2 separate regions of the Homo sapiens genome follow, and region 2 is linked to region 1. The links are contacts of gene promoters, found by promoter capture Hi-C in blood cells and fetal thymus (Javierre and others, 2016). All regions are on one chromosome and are shown on one strand. Each heading gives the region's core, a stretch centred on a gene start or on the middle of the fragment in contact. The rest is flanking DNA. Distances are from core to core; before and after follow the strand shown.

The links. The method cuts DNA at HindIII sites, captures the fragments that hold promoters and counts their contacts. A CHiCAGO score of 5 or more calls a contact.
Region 2: a fragment that was not itself captured here is called in contact with the fragment with the promoter of SEPTIN9 in region 1 in 2 of 17 cell types (total CD8 T cells and activated CD4 T cells); the score reaches 5.5 in total CD8 T cells.

What each region holds. Positions count from the first base shown.
Region 1 is chr17:77,279,015-77,284,814 of GRCh38, forward strand. It overlaps SEPTIN9 (septin 9), which reads left to right and starts at 2,485. Exons shown (of 12, transcript NM_001113491.2): 1 at 2,485-2,540. The coding sequence starts at 2,522. SEPTIN9-DT (SEPTIN9 divergent transcript) reads right to left here and starts at 2,883. Exons shown (of 3, transcript NR_136503.1): 1 at 2,598-2,883. RefSeq lists an enhancer at 567-1,214 and a silencer at 2,816-2,979. The HindIII fragment of the contact is 6,769 bases long and covers 281-5,800 here.
Region 2 is chr17:77,508,900-77,514,699 of GRCh38, forward strand. No RefSeq gene overlaps it. Among named protein-coding and RNA genes, the nearest start is that of MIR4316, 110 kb to the left of the region's middle. The HindIII fragment of the contact is 247 bases long and covers 3,047-3,293 here.

The sequences.
Region 1 (5,800 bases), core at 1,235-3,734:
ACAAAAAAAAAAAAATTAGCCAGGTGTGGCGGGCACCTGTAATCTCAGCTACTCAAGAGGCTGAGGCTGGAGAATCACTTGAACCTGGGAGGCAGAGGTTGCAGTGAGCTGAGATCGCACCATTGCACTCCAGCCTCGGCGACGAGGGCAAAACTCCCTCTCAAAAAATAAAAAATAAAAATAAATAAATAAAAACAAAATTTGAGGCTTAAACAATTAAGCTTCGTGCATCTCTTTAATTTTTCTTTTTTTTTTTTAACTCTAATTTCATGACAGATTAAGCTTCATGCATCTCAAAAATGTGTAGAACCCTCATTCCCAGCCTTCCCTCCCTCTCTCTTGTCCTTCTTTCTGATTTCTTGGAATCGGAAGGAAAATTCGGATATCCAGGAACCATCACACAGGAGGCACCCATGTGATGTGTCCAACATCACTCCACGCAGGTGTCCTTGGGTCCTGGGTGCCCAGGTTCCTGTGAATTGTGACCCCAGGCAGAAGCGTGAGCATCCGCAGAGGAACCCACCTACCCAAAGCCAGGGAACAGCCAGGGCTGGCATCCTCAGGGTGACTGTGCTCCAGGGCACCTCTGACTTGTGCTGAGTAAAATGGACAAAGCCAGCAATGCACCCATAACCCAGATTCTTGAGACACCGCTGGACTTTGGGAATCCCAGGCATTAGGCTCGTGGCAGTGTCATCATGGCTAGGCTGGGGGCAGTGTCATCATGGTGCTTGCTGGCCAAGTCAGGACACGGCCTAAGCCGGAATCTGCTGGTGCTGGTACAAGCGGTGAGTGGGCGTGTGGGTGGGGGTTGCGGTTAGGGTGTGGACATCCCAGAATCCAGGACGCTGTTCACAATTCGTCCATACTCCCTGCTCCCCTCCCTTACAGCACTTCCCTCCCGAGGCCTCCTGAGCCTCTAACCCCCAGATAAGGAAAGGGGTGGACTCAGTTGAAGTCCAGTGTCCACTCCGGTCCAATCAGCTCTACCTGGGGTGAGGGGAAACTCCTCTGGCTGGGCTGCTCCCTCTGCAGGGCTGTGGCTGGACAGATTACTCAAGAAAGGAAGCAGGTGGGCCGGAACGAACCCACGGTGCCACATAGGCCTCCGTTCTCATGCATATAAGTTTCCCACACTCAGGCAGGAAATGAAAATGCTTCTTGGACCCCCAAGGAGAGTAAAGGAGAGGGGAAGAGGAGGAGGATTTTTCGGGGCTGTTAGTGACACTTTCAGCCTCCTGTGCATTTTTGGGAGGGCTGCAGGAGAAGGCAATGCTGCGCCCCTACCCAGAACTAGCGAGCGCTTCCCAACTGGCCTCCCGCCTTCCTCTCGTCCTCTACGGCCTCCATTGGCAGCTGTGCAAGGGCCCGGCCCTGCCTCTGTCTCTCCACACTCGCTGTGATACCTCAGGCCTCCCAGGCTCCGCCACGCCCTTCCCTCTTTCGGGAACAGCTGCCTTCCATCACCTTGGCTGCCTGGCTAATTCCTGCTCATTCCTTAAAACCCTGTTTTGATTTCGCCTCAATAAAACTCTGACACCACCCTCCAGTCATAATTAGTCACTTCTTCCTCTGTACGTTGGAAACACCGCTTTATCGTGGAGACTTTAAGGATATCCAAGTAGAGAGAATTCTTCCGTGCAAGTTTTGCATCCTCTCACCACTGCCTGCGTTACCCGAGTTGTAAAGGGCGGCTCCCTGTGTCTGCCCCGCTGCACCGATACACCGAGCTGCGCACGGTGCCCAGCGCAGGGAGAACAAATGATCATCTGTCCAACGCGCCCATTTACAGGTGAGGAAACTAAGGCTCCAACTCAATCGACGCACTCTGCCCTTTTGATTACCAGAAAAGTAGCAGGACAGGTGTCCTGTCCCGCCCTACCCCGGCCCACTAAGCCGGCACCCCGGCTCCGACCCCCGGCTGTGCCCGGCGCCGCCGCGGTGCCCGGCGCCGCCGCCTCGCCCGGCGGGGCCGCCCGGAGCGCCCGCACCTCCGCCCGCTTCCACCTGGCCGGGCCCGCCCCGCCCGGACTCGGGACTGGGAAGTGCGGCGACTCCCGGAACCAGCCATTGGCGCCAGCGCGGGGAGCTGGGGGTGCAGAGCTGCGGGCGCGGCGGGCCACGCAGGCGGCCCCCACCCCCGGCCTGGCCTGGTCTGGTCTGGTCTGCGCTGCCGCGCGGGGGCGCCCCCTCCCAGGCCCGGCGCCCGCCAGCCCCGCTCCGCCAGGTGCAGCGCAGCGCAGGGGTGGGCGGGGGTGGGGCTCGGCGCGCACGTTCACGGGGCGGGGAGGGGGCGGGTCAGGGGCGGGACCACAGCCGGCTGGGCCGGGGTTCTATGCGCATCTCCGGGGAGGGGCGGGGCGGGGGCGGGGCCGGGGCGGGGCCCGGTCGGTGCACTCCAGACGGCGGGCCGCCCCCTCTTCCCGCCTTCCTACTACCGGCCCAGGATTAGCGCCCTGGGAGCGCGCGCCCCGCTGCCTCGCCGCCACACTTTCCTGGGAGCGGCGGCCACGGAGGCACCATGAAGAAGTCTTACTCAGGTGGGCTTCGCGCCCGGGGTGGGGAGGGGTCGGTGTCCCGGGACCAGCGCTGCTCACCTGAGTGCCTGCGGCCGGGAGTGGCGAGGCGCCCCCGGAGCTGAGCGAGTCCCCGCGGCGGGCACACTGCAGGTCGAGTTCCTCCCAGGACAGGGCCGCTGTCGGGCCGCTTTCGACCTGAGCCGACCGTCCCCTGCGCTGTCTCCAGCCCTTGCTCGAGTGTCGGAGGGGCTGCCCTGGGGGACGCTCCCTCTTCCTCGCCCCTTGCACCCTCGCAGGAATCGCTGACTTTCCAGGTCGGCCGGGTGCTTTGGGTCCCTGTGCGTCTGTGTGGGTGAATGGGGTCGGGGCTAGGTGGAGGGGTGTCCTTGGGTTCAGCCTCTAGGGCTGGTGGTCCAGGCCGCAGCATCCTTTCTTCGGATTCTCTTCGGTTTCTCCTCTACTTAGTGGGGCACGGGACGGCCTCCAGATGGGACCGTCCAGCAGCGCCCAAACTTGGCGACTCGGGTTCACGTTTTGCGCTCAGGACGCCGCCCGCGGCTGACATCCTCACTCCACCCTAGCAGGGCCCGCCTTAAGTAGGCGAAGGGGGCCTGACTTGGGCCTCACCATGAGCCGGTTCAGGAGCTTTCATTTCATAAGAGGCTCCCGCTCTGGCACTCTGAAGTTCCATTTCACAGATGGGCACACCGAGGCCACAAGGGCAGGTTAAGAGAAATCCAGATCTTCATTATTTGTCTTTTCCTTCCTTTTTTTTTTCCTTTGTGGTTTTCTCCAAAGGATCCAGGCAGGCAGGATCCTTTGTCCTCCTCAGTCCTCAAATTATAAATAGCGTCTCCTCTTCTAAATCTAGAAACCGTTTGTTTAATGTCCCTCCTTTAATTCATTCAGATAGAAAGGTACCTGCCAAGGATCCATGAATTAATTTTTATTGATAGGAGAACAGAATCATGGGCCTTAGTTGGAGGTGAAGGAGTCATCGGGGCCATCCCCCTGCCTTTGGGCCATTGTCGGTTTCCTCTGGCTTTCCATATTTAGGAACCAAAATGAGTGATAAAGTACCTTGTCTCAAAGAGGATTACTCAGAACTTCCCCGAAAATACCCTTCTGGGTCAGTAGCTTAGAATTTCAACTTTCACCCGGTTGTTGCGAACAAGATGGCCCTCTACGCACCCGGAGCACAGCTCTGTCAGGAGCGTGGGTGGGTTGGTGTGCTGGTGGGCGGGAGCGGGCTTCCAGGTGGCACATGCTTGGTTTTGGCACCGGGGCTTCCTCCCCAACATGCTCCAAATACTTGAGATTGTTGTGGGGATCGCGCGGTGCATGGCCCTTTCCAGGGGATCTCTAGCCCGCCCAGGGAGGGCCCTTTGCCCTTGGTTTCTTACACTTTACCTCCCACTGGTGGGTCCAGACAGTGGGGGTGACCGGGGTCCTCCCAGGTCGTGGGTCCTGGGTTTTTTCTGCGGAGACCCTCCTGCACAGATGCCGGAAGGGCCCTGAGGCAGGCTTGGAGTCTCTGCACCTGCGGCTTACTGGGAGGTGGGGAGACCATCACTTGTCCTTTTCTCCTCTCCTCCACACACACCTACCCCACCCCTCACTGGGTTTCTTTTTTTTTTTTTTTTTTAAAAAAAAGGACAGAACCTTTTGCAGTAGGTGGAAGTAGAGTTTGTGGAGTGAGCAGGAACCAACTCTTGTACAGCAGCCTCGGTGCCTCCTTGTGTTTACCTAAAGGGGCAGGCCCCTCTGAGGATGGGGGAAGGGAGGGCTCAGACCATTTCTGGTTTGCTCCCTGCTTGGCAGTGGCCCAAGGTGTGCTGGGTCACTGTGTTGCAGTTGTATGGAGTGGGACTGGAGGGGGCTGATGGTGGGGGTGGCCTCTTGCCCTCATTCTGAGTGTCCTGGAGCTGTCTTGGCACCAGCCCTTTTCCGGGTACGGGCACTCGCAGGAGTCAGGCTGACCCCCCAACAAGCCATCGACACCATGAAATTAAGGAAAGCAGCAAAAGATGTTAAAAATCCCCCAAGGCTCTGACAATCCAAGGACAACAGGAAGGTCTTTATTTTTTCATCTAGACTGTGCGGGATTATTGCTTCCAGACCTGTATGTGGGCTTCAGAATAAACGGAATGACCATAATGTTGTTCCCGGTAGACCTGGTTTGAACATTCGTGAGCCTCTGAAAAGGAGAAAGATTTTAGAAGGATGTGTTGGGGCAATCTCAAGTACCGTGGGTCTATAGACAGTCATCGAAGACACTTTATGTGCTGGGCACACATGGCCAAGTCTGAGTGGGTACAGAAATGGTAATGAGATATAGTCCTTGCCTGCAGAGAACTTACATTCTCACCGGGAGTCAGGATGAGGGCGAGACACCAGCTCATTAACACCCTTCCCTCCTGAGCAGTTCAGCCTCCAAATACTACAGGAATGCCCCGGAGGTTTTAGGTGGAGGTGAGATTGAGCTGGGCCTTGAGGAAGGAGAAGTCTTGAGTAGTGGAGAATAAAAAGGGACTTGGCCAGGTGCGCTTGAAGTCCCAGCTACTCAGGAGGCTGAGACACGAGGATCGCTTGAGCCCAGGAGGCTACTCAGGAGGCTGAGACACGAGGATCGCTTGAGCCCAGGAGGCTACTCAGGAGGCTGAGACAGGAGGATCGCTTGAAGCCAGGAGTTCAAGGCTGCAGCCCTGTGACAGCGCCTGGAAATAGACACGGCACTCCAGCCTGGGTGGCGTCATGAGACCCCATCTGTAAGAAGGTCTTTTCCAATGCGGAAGGCAGCAAGGGCCCACACAGGGCAGCTGCAGGATCCAGGGGGACACTGGGGACAGGTTCTCTCTGGCAGCTCCACTGCTGCTCCAGGCTTTCCCGATTGCCTCACCCGGCCTTCCAATGGGGTGGAGGTAGTGGTAGTCTACAGGCAGTGTGGTCCAGTGGTTACACTTGGGGGCTCAGAGCCGCCAGCCCCTTGGGATTAAATCTCACCAGGCTGCGCCTCTCCCTGTGGCACAAGGTTCTCACCTCATGCATCTCATTTGCCTCATTTGTTTTTTTGTGTGTGTGGTGTTTTTTAATTTTATTTATTTATTTATTTTTGAGACGGAGTCTCACTCTGTCTCCCAGGCTGGAGTGCAATGGCATGATCTCAGCTTACTGCAACCTCCGCCTCCCAGGTTCAAGTGATTCTCCTGCCTCAGCCTCCTGAGTGGCTGGGATTGTAGGAACGTGCCACTGCGCCCAGCTAATTTTTATATTTTTACTAG
Region 2 (5,800 bases), core at 1,920-4,419, 230 kb after region 1:
CTTACCAGCTGAGTGACTTCAGATGGGTGACTTAACCTGGGTCCATGCCTCAGTTTCTCCATCTATAAAATGGTAACAACAGTACCCAATTCATAGGATTGTTATGATTAAATGAGTTAGTTCATGTGAGGCACTTACAATAGTGTCTAGCCAATGAGTGTTTCATAGATGTGAGCCATCATTATCACCATTGACATCACCGCCACCATCATCATCACCATCATCATCATCACTGTAATCACTATCAACATTACCATCATCACCCTCACTATCATTATCATCACTATCACCATCACCATCACTACCATCATCACCATGACCATCATCATCACCATCTCCATCATCATCATCATTGTTATCATCACATCATCAGTATCATCACTACTATGATCGCCATCATTACTACCATCATCCCTTCATTACCATCATCACCATCATTATCAGCATCACTATCATGATCATCACCATCACCATCATCAATATCATTACTACTGTGATCACCATCACCACCACCATTATCCCATCATTATCATTTTCACTATCACCATCATCACCACTACCATCATTATCATCTCATCACCATCATCAACACCATCACCATCATCATCATTACCATTACCATCATCACCGTCACTATTATTACCATTATCATCATCACCATCACCATGATCATCACCATTACCATCATCACCATCTCCCTCATTATCATCATTATCATTATCATCACTTCATCAGTATCATCACTACTATGATCACCATCACCACTACCATCATCCCATCATTATCACCATCATCCCATCATTATCATCATCACCATCACCATCATCAGTATCATCACTACTGTGATTACCATTACCACCATCATCCCATCATTATTTCTGTCACCATCATTATCACCACAACCATCATCATCACCATCATCATCACCACCATCACCATCATCATCACCACCATCATTAGCATCACGATCATCACCATCATCACCACCATCACCATCATCTCCATGAACATCACCATCACCACCATTACCATCATCATCACTACTACTACCTTACCATCCATGTAACGTACCTACTGCCTTACCTAGCACCATCAATGTCACCATAATTATTATCATCACCATCACCATCATCATCACGATTATCACCACAACCATCAATATCATCGTCATTTTCTCCATCATCACCATCAACAACATCCTGAAACTGAAATAAAGAAAAAGGCCCTGCTGTGGCCTCATCTTGCTCCTCTGCTCTGGAATCAGAAGGAGTAAAAACCAGCCAAGTGGAGGGCAGAGCTGACAGCAAAGGAGAAGCTGGGCTGTTTGCTGCCCAGGCCTGGCTGGCACCCCTCCTCCTGGGACGTAGCAACTTTCTGAGCATGTCCTCAGTACGAGGCTTCCCTGCACTGCTTCTCCCTGAATGTTCACAATAGTCCCACGGGGCAGGTGCCATCACGGTGAAGTTGAGGTACAGAGAGGTCAAGGAGCTTGGCCAGGGTGCACAGCTGGTGAGGGACTGAGTCAGGATGTAAAACACTGTCTGATCTGTGGTCCAGTGGCATCCACTGCACTTCACTGCCCACAGTAGGGGTGGGGGTGGGGGTGGCAGGCTCCCTGTTGCCTCAGACTGAAGAAGTGCTCAAGGCTGGCTCTGTGTACTGGGACCTCTCTCCTGGGCCATGAACCACAGCATCTATTTTTAAATGTGGAGCACCTATTCACGGAGGCAGCACCATGCTGGGCCCTGGAGGAACAAAGCAGGCAAATAAGTCAGGACTCTGAACCTGTGGGCGGCCGGTTGGGTGGGGAGGACAGACATGTACACAGAGCATCATAATACAATGAAGCCAGTGCCATGACAGAGGTACATGGGGGCCACCGGGGAAGGTTCCCAGAGGAGGGGCACCTACCCTTGTTGGCAGGGCCAGTGCTGAGTGTCAGTTACGCCCTTTATATTCTTTATAAATTACACAATCTTAGATTTTTTTTTTTTTGAGACAGAGTCTCACTCTGTTGTCCAGGCTGGAGTGCAATGGCGCAATCTCACCTCACTGTAACCTCCGCCTCCTGGGTTCAAGCATTCTCCTGCCTTGGCCTCCTGGGTAGCTGGGATTACAGGCACATGCCACCCCGCCTGGCTAATTTTTGTAGTTTTTAGTAGAGATGGGGTTTCACCATGTTGGTCTGGTCTTGAACTCCTGACCTCGTGATCCACCCACCTTGGCCTCCCAAAGTGCTGGGATTACAGGTGTGAGCCACCGTGCCCTGCCTCAGATACTTCTTTATAGTAGTGTGAAAATGGACTAATACAGTATGCATTCATTGAGTTTCTTGGATCTATTGGCTGATCTTTTTAGATTTTGGAAAATTCTCAACAACTATTCCTCAAATATTTACTCTGCCTTATGCTCCTTTTCTTCTCTTTCTGGTGCTCCAATTTCATGTATGTTAATATTTTTCCACAGTTCTTCAACACTCTGTTCTTTTTTAAATTTTTATTTTGTTAATTATTTTTCTGTTTGAATTTTAGTTTGGATAATTTCTATTGACTAGTCTTTAAGATCCTTTCAGTTTTATTGATCTTTTCTTCTACTGTGTTCAATCTGCTGTTAAACCCATCAAACAAACTCTTTGTATCTAATATTACAGTTTTCATCTCTAGAATTTCCATTTGGTTATTTTATAGTTTCCATTTCTGTGCTGAAATTTCCCATCTGTTCACACATGCTGTCTACCTTTCCCACTAGATCTTTTAACATCTCTATTTTAGTTTATTTAAGGTCCTTGTCTAATAATTCCAACACTCAGTCATCTGTGGGTCTACTTCTATTGGTAATTTTTCCCCTGATTATTAGTCTCATTGCCCTGCTTCTTTGCATGTCTTGCAATTTTTTTAGTCTGAAATGTAGTATATTTTTTAAAAAGTAGTGCCTATAGTAAGTATATGTCTCCTGGAAAAAGAATGTACCCTTCTTCTATTGGGCCATTAGTGTGAGGGACTGAGTCAATCTAATATGCAGTTGACTTGGATCTGGGCTTTAGTGAAGCTTCAGTTAAAGTCACTTAACCACTCACTTCAAATGTTTTGAAAGTAGGATCAGGTCTTTCCCTTAAGTAAGTGTTTGAGAGAGAAGAGGACAGTATGAAAAACGTAATGTGTGCCTGTATTAGAAAGGTCAGAGGGCTTTGAGGATGTAAACATGGTGTATAAAGGTGAGTGTTGTTAAACAGGATATTGCAACAGTGCAGAGATGGGTGGTAACTTTCAGAGGATGAAAGATCTTATTCTTGAAGCTTTCAGCTGGGAATGGTAAAAATAATAACAGATACTATCCTGATGAAGGGCATTCTGGGCCTGAACCCAATCACTTCAAAGACCCTGAAAGAATTCTCAGGATTCCATAGCAATTGGCCATAGGCCACTGCTGCTTCCACATATGAAAAAAATGCTAACATCCCAGTCCTACTTCCAAACCCCAGCACAGGCTGTATTGCCCCCCAGGGTAATTTAACACCAGAAAACAAAAACTTCATTGGTCCTGGTCCAGATTTCTGTGTCCTGGCCTCGCCCATAAAGGGGGCTCCCATTAGCTAACCTGCTCAGCTCCCCGCCACACTTCCCACAGAGCTTTCTAGCTTTTGTCAGCTCAAGGCAGCCCTTGAAAACTGTAGAATCTGAGGGGGTGTGTATCTAATAAAGTTGGAGCTCTGTAATTTAGCAATTACTGTAACCCACACTTGTAATTTAGGGGGTTTCTTGTAATTCTTTGTACTCTTTCTTTTTGAAAAAATATGCAGCCTTAATAGCTTCCTCTTTAATGCTCCAAAGGCCGATATTTGCCACTCCCCATCCCCTGTCAGCTGCAGAGCACAAAGAAGTGTGCAGATCGTGTTGAGGCTGCTTTTCAGGTATTAGAAAGTTTAATTTAATGCTCAGCATCTCCGAAAGGAAACTGAACTTGCTCCTTGTAATCGTGCATGTCTTCAAAGCTCTGAATTCCTCTTCTAGGTTGGTCATCAGTATGGATTAAAATCTGCTGAGAGGTGTAATCTACCCACCTTTCTACATTCTACTATTAGGCCAGTCTCCTCACTGCTTCCTGAATGTGCTAGTGTTAATTTTGCTCATCTGTCTTTATTTGTGCAGTTACCTATTTGTTCATTTAAGATTTTTTTTTCTTTTTTTGAGAACCTCTATGTGCTAGACTCTAGGCTCACTACCAGGAATCTAAGTCATAAAGGACAGGACAACCTCTGTCCAGGAGTTTGTAGTCTGGAAAGACAGATGACTCTATCATAACTACACTCAAGATATTAGGTGTGATGACAGAGCTGGCATAGAGGGTGATGGAAACCAGGGGGTGGCACCTAACTCAGACTGAGCTGTGAGAAGTAGCTATTTGGAAGCCAGGCTATGATGGTAAAAAGAGGCGAGAGAGGCAAAGCGTGGGAAAGAATGGTCCACAAAGCACACAGAGACTTGTGCTGGAATGCTTCTATTCATAAAAGCTGGATTTAAAATAGAGACAAACCGGAAAACACACAGATGTTCATCAATAGAAGAATTTTGATATATGTATACAATGGAATTTGACTTAGCAATTAAAAATGAACTACTGGTACATGTAACAACATGCTTCATTCTTTAAAATGTTATGTTGAACAGAAAAGCCTATTGCAAAGGGCACATAGTATTTAATTCCACGGAGAATGAAATGCAAGAAGAGGCAAAACTGGCCAGGTGCAGTGGCTCATGCCTGTAATCCCAGCATTTTGAGAGGCCGAGGCGGGTGGATCACTTGAGGTCAGGAGTTCAAGACCAGCCTGGCCAACATGGTAAAACCCCGTCTCTACTAAAAATACAAAAATTAGCCAGGTGTGGTAGTACGTGCCTGTAATCCCAGCTACTCAGGAGGCTGAGGCAGGAGGATTGCTCAAACCCAGGAGATGGGGGTTGCAGCAAGCTGCGACTGTGCCATTGCACTCCCCCGGTCTGGGCAACAGAGCAAGACTCCGTCTCAAAATAAATAAATAAATAAATAAATAAATAAATAAATAAATAAATAAATAATCAAAAAAAGAAGAGGTAAAATTAATCCATAGTGATAAAAACCAGAACTCTGGTTGCCTATGGGGAGGTGGAGACTCAATGTGAATGGCCTGGGATGATGTAAATAGGCTATTGGTTTTCTGGTAGCATGTATTTACACATTTACCAACTCATTGAATTTTACACTTAAGATCTGTGTATTTCACTGCAGGCAAATTTTGCCTCGATAAAAACTAACCAGTAAAAGAAGAAAAAAGAATCTGAATGTCTCTATCTTTTTACAGAGGGTTTTAATCCATTCGCATTATTTGTGAGTATTGAGATTGATGTTAGGACTTATTTCTGCTAACTTGCTTTATTTTTAAAACTATAGTTAACATACTTTCTTGTTATTTCTTATTTTCCTTAACAATAATAAAGTTTTGAATTCACGTCTAAATTCAACTGTGACTGTATCCTATTATTTTCTAAATAATCTACAATAGGTTTTGATTTCTTTGTTGACTTAATCATTATTAAAAGAAGGTTTTAAAATTTCCAAACCACTGAGTGTTTCTGTTAGGCTTTGTTAAAACTTGACCATTAATTTCTGTTTTTCCTATTTTAAACAATTGTGGTTAGGAAATGTAGACTGTGCTCTCACTGCTTTATAGAACAAGACAGAAAACAGACTGTTCTTGGATTAACAGATGTGTTGTTTTGGTTTATTCAGATGGCCTCAAAATGTCCTCTGTTGGTGAGAGGATTTT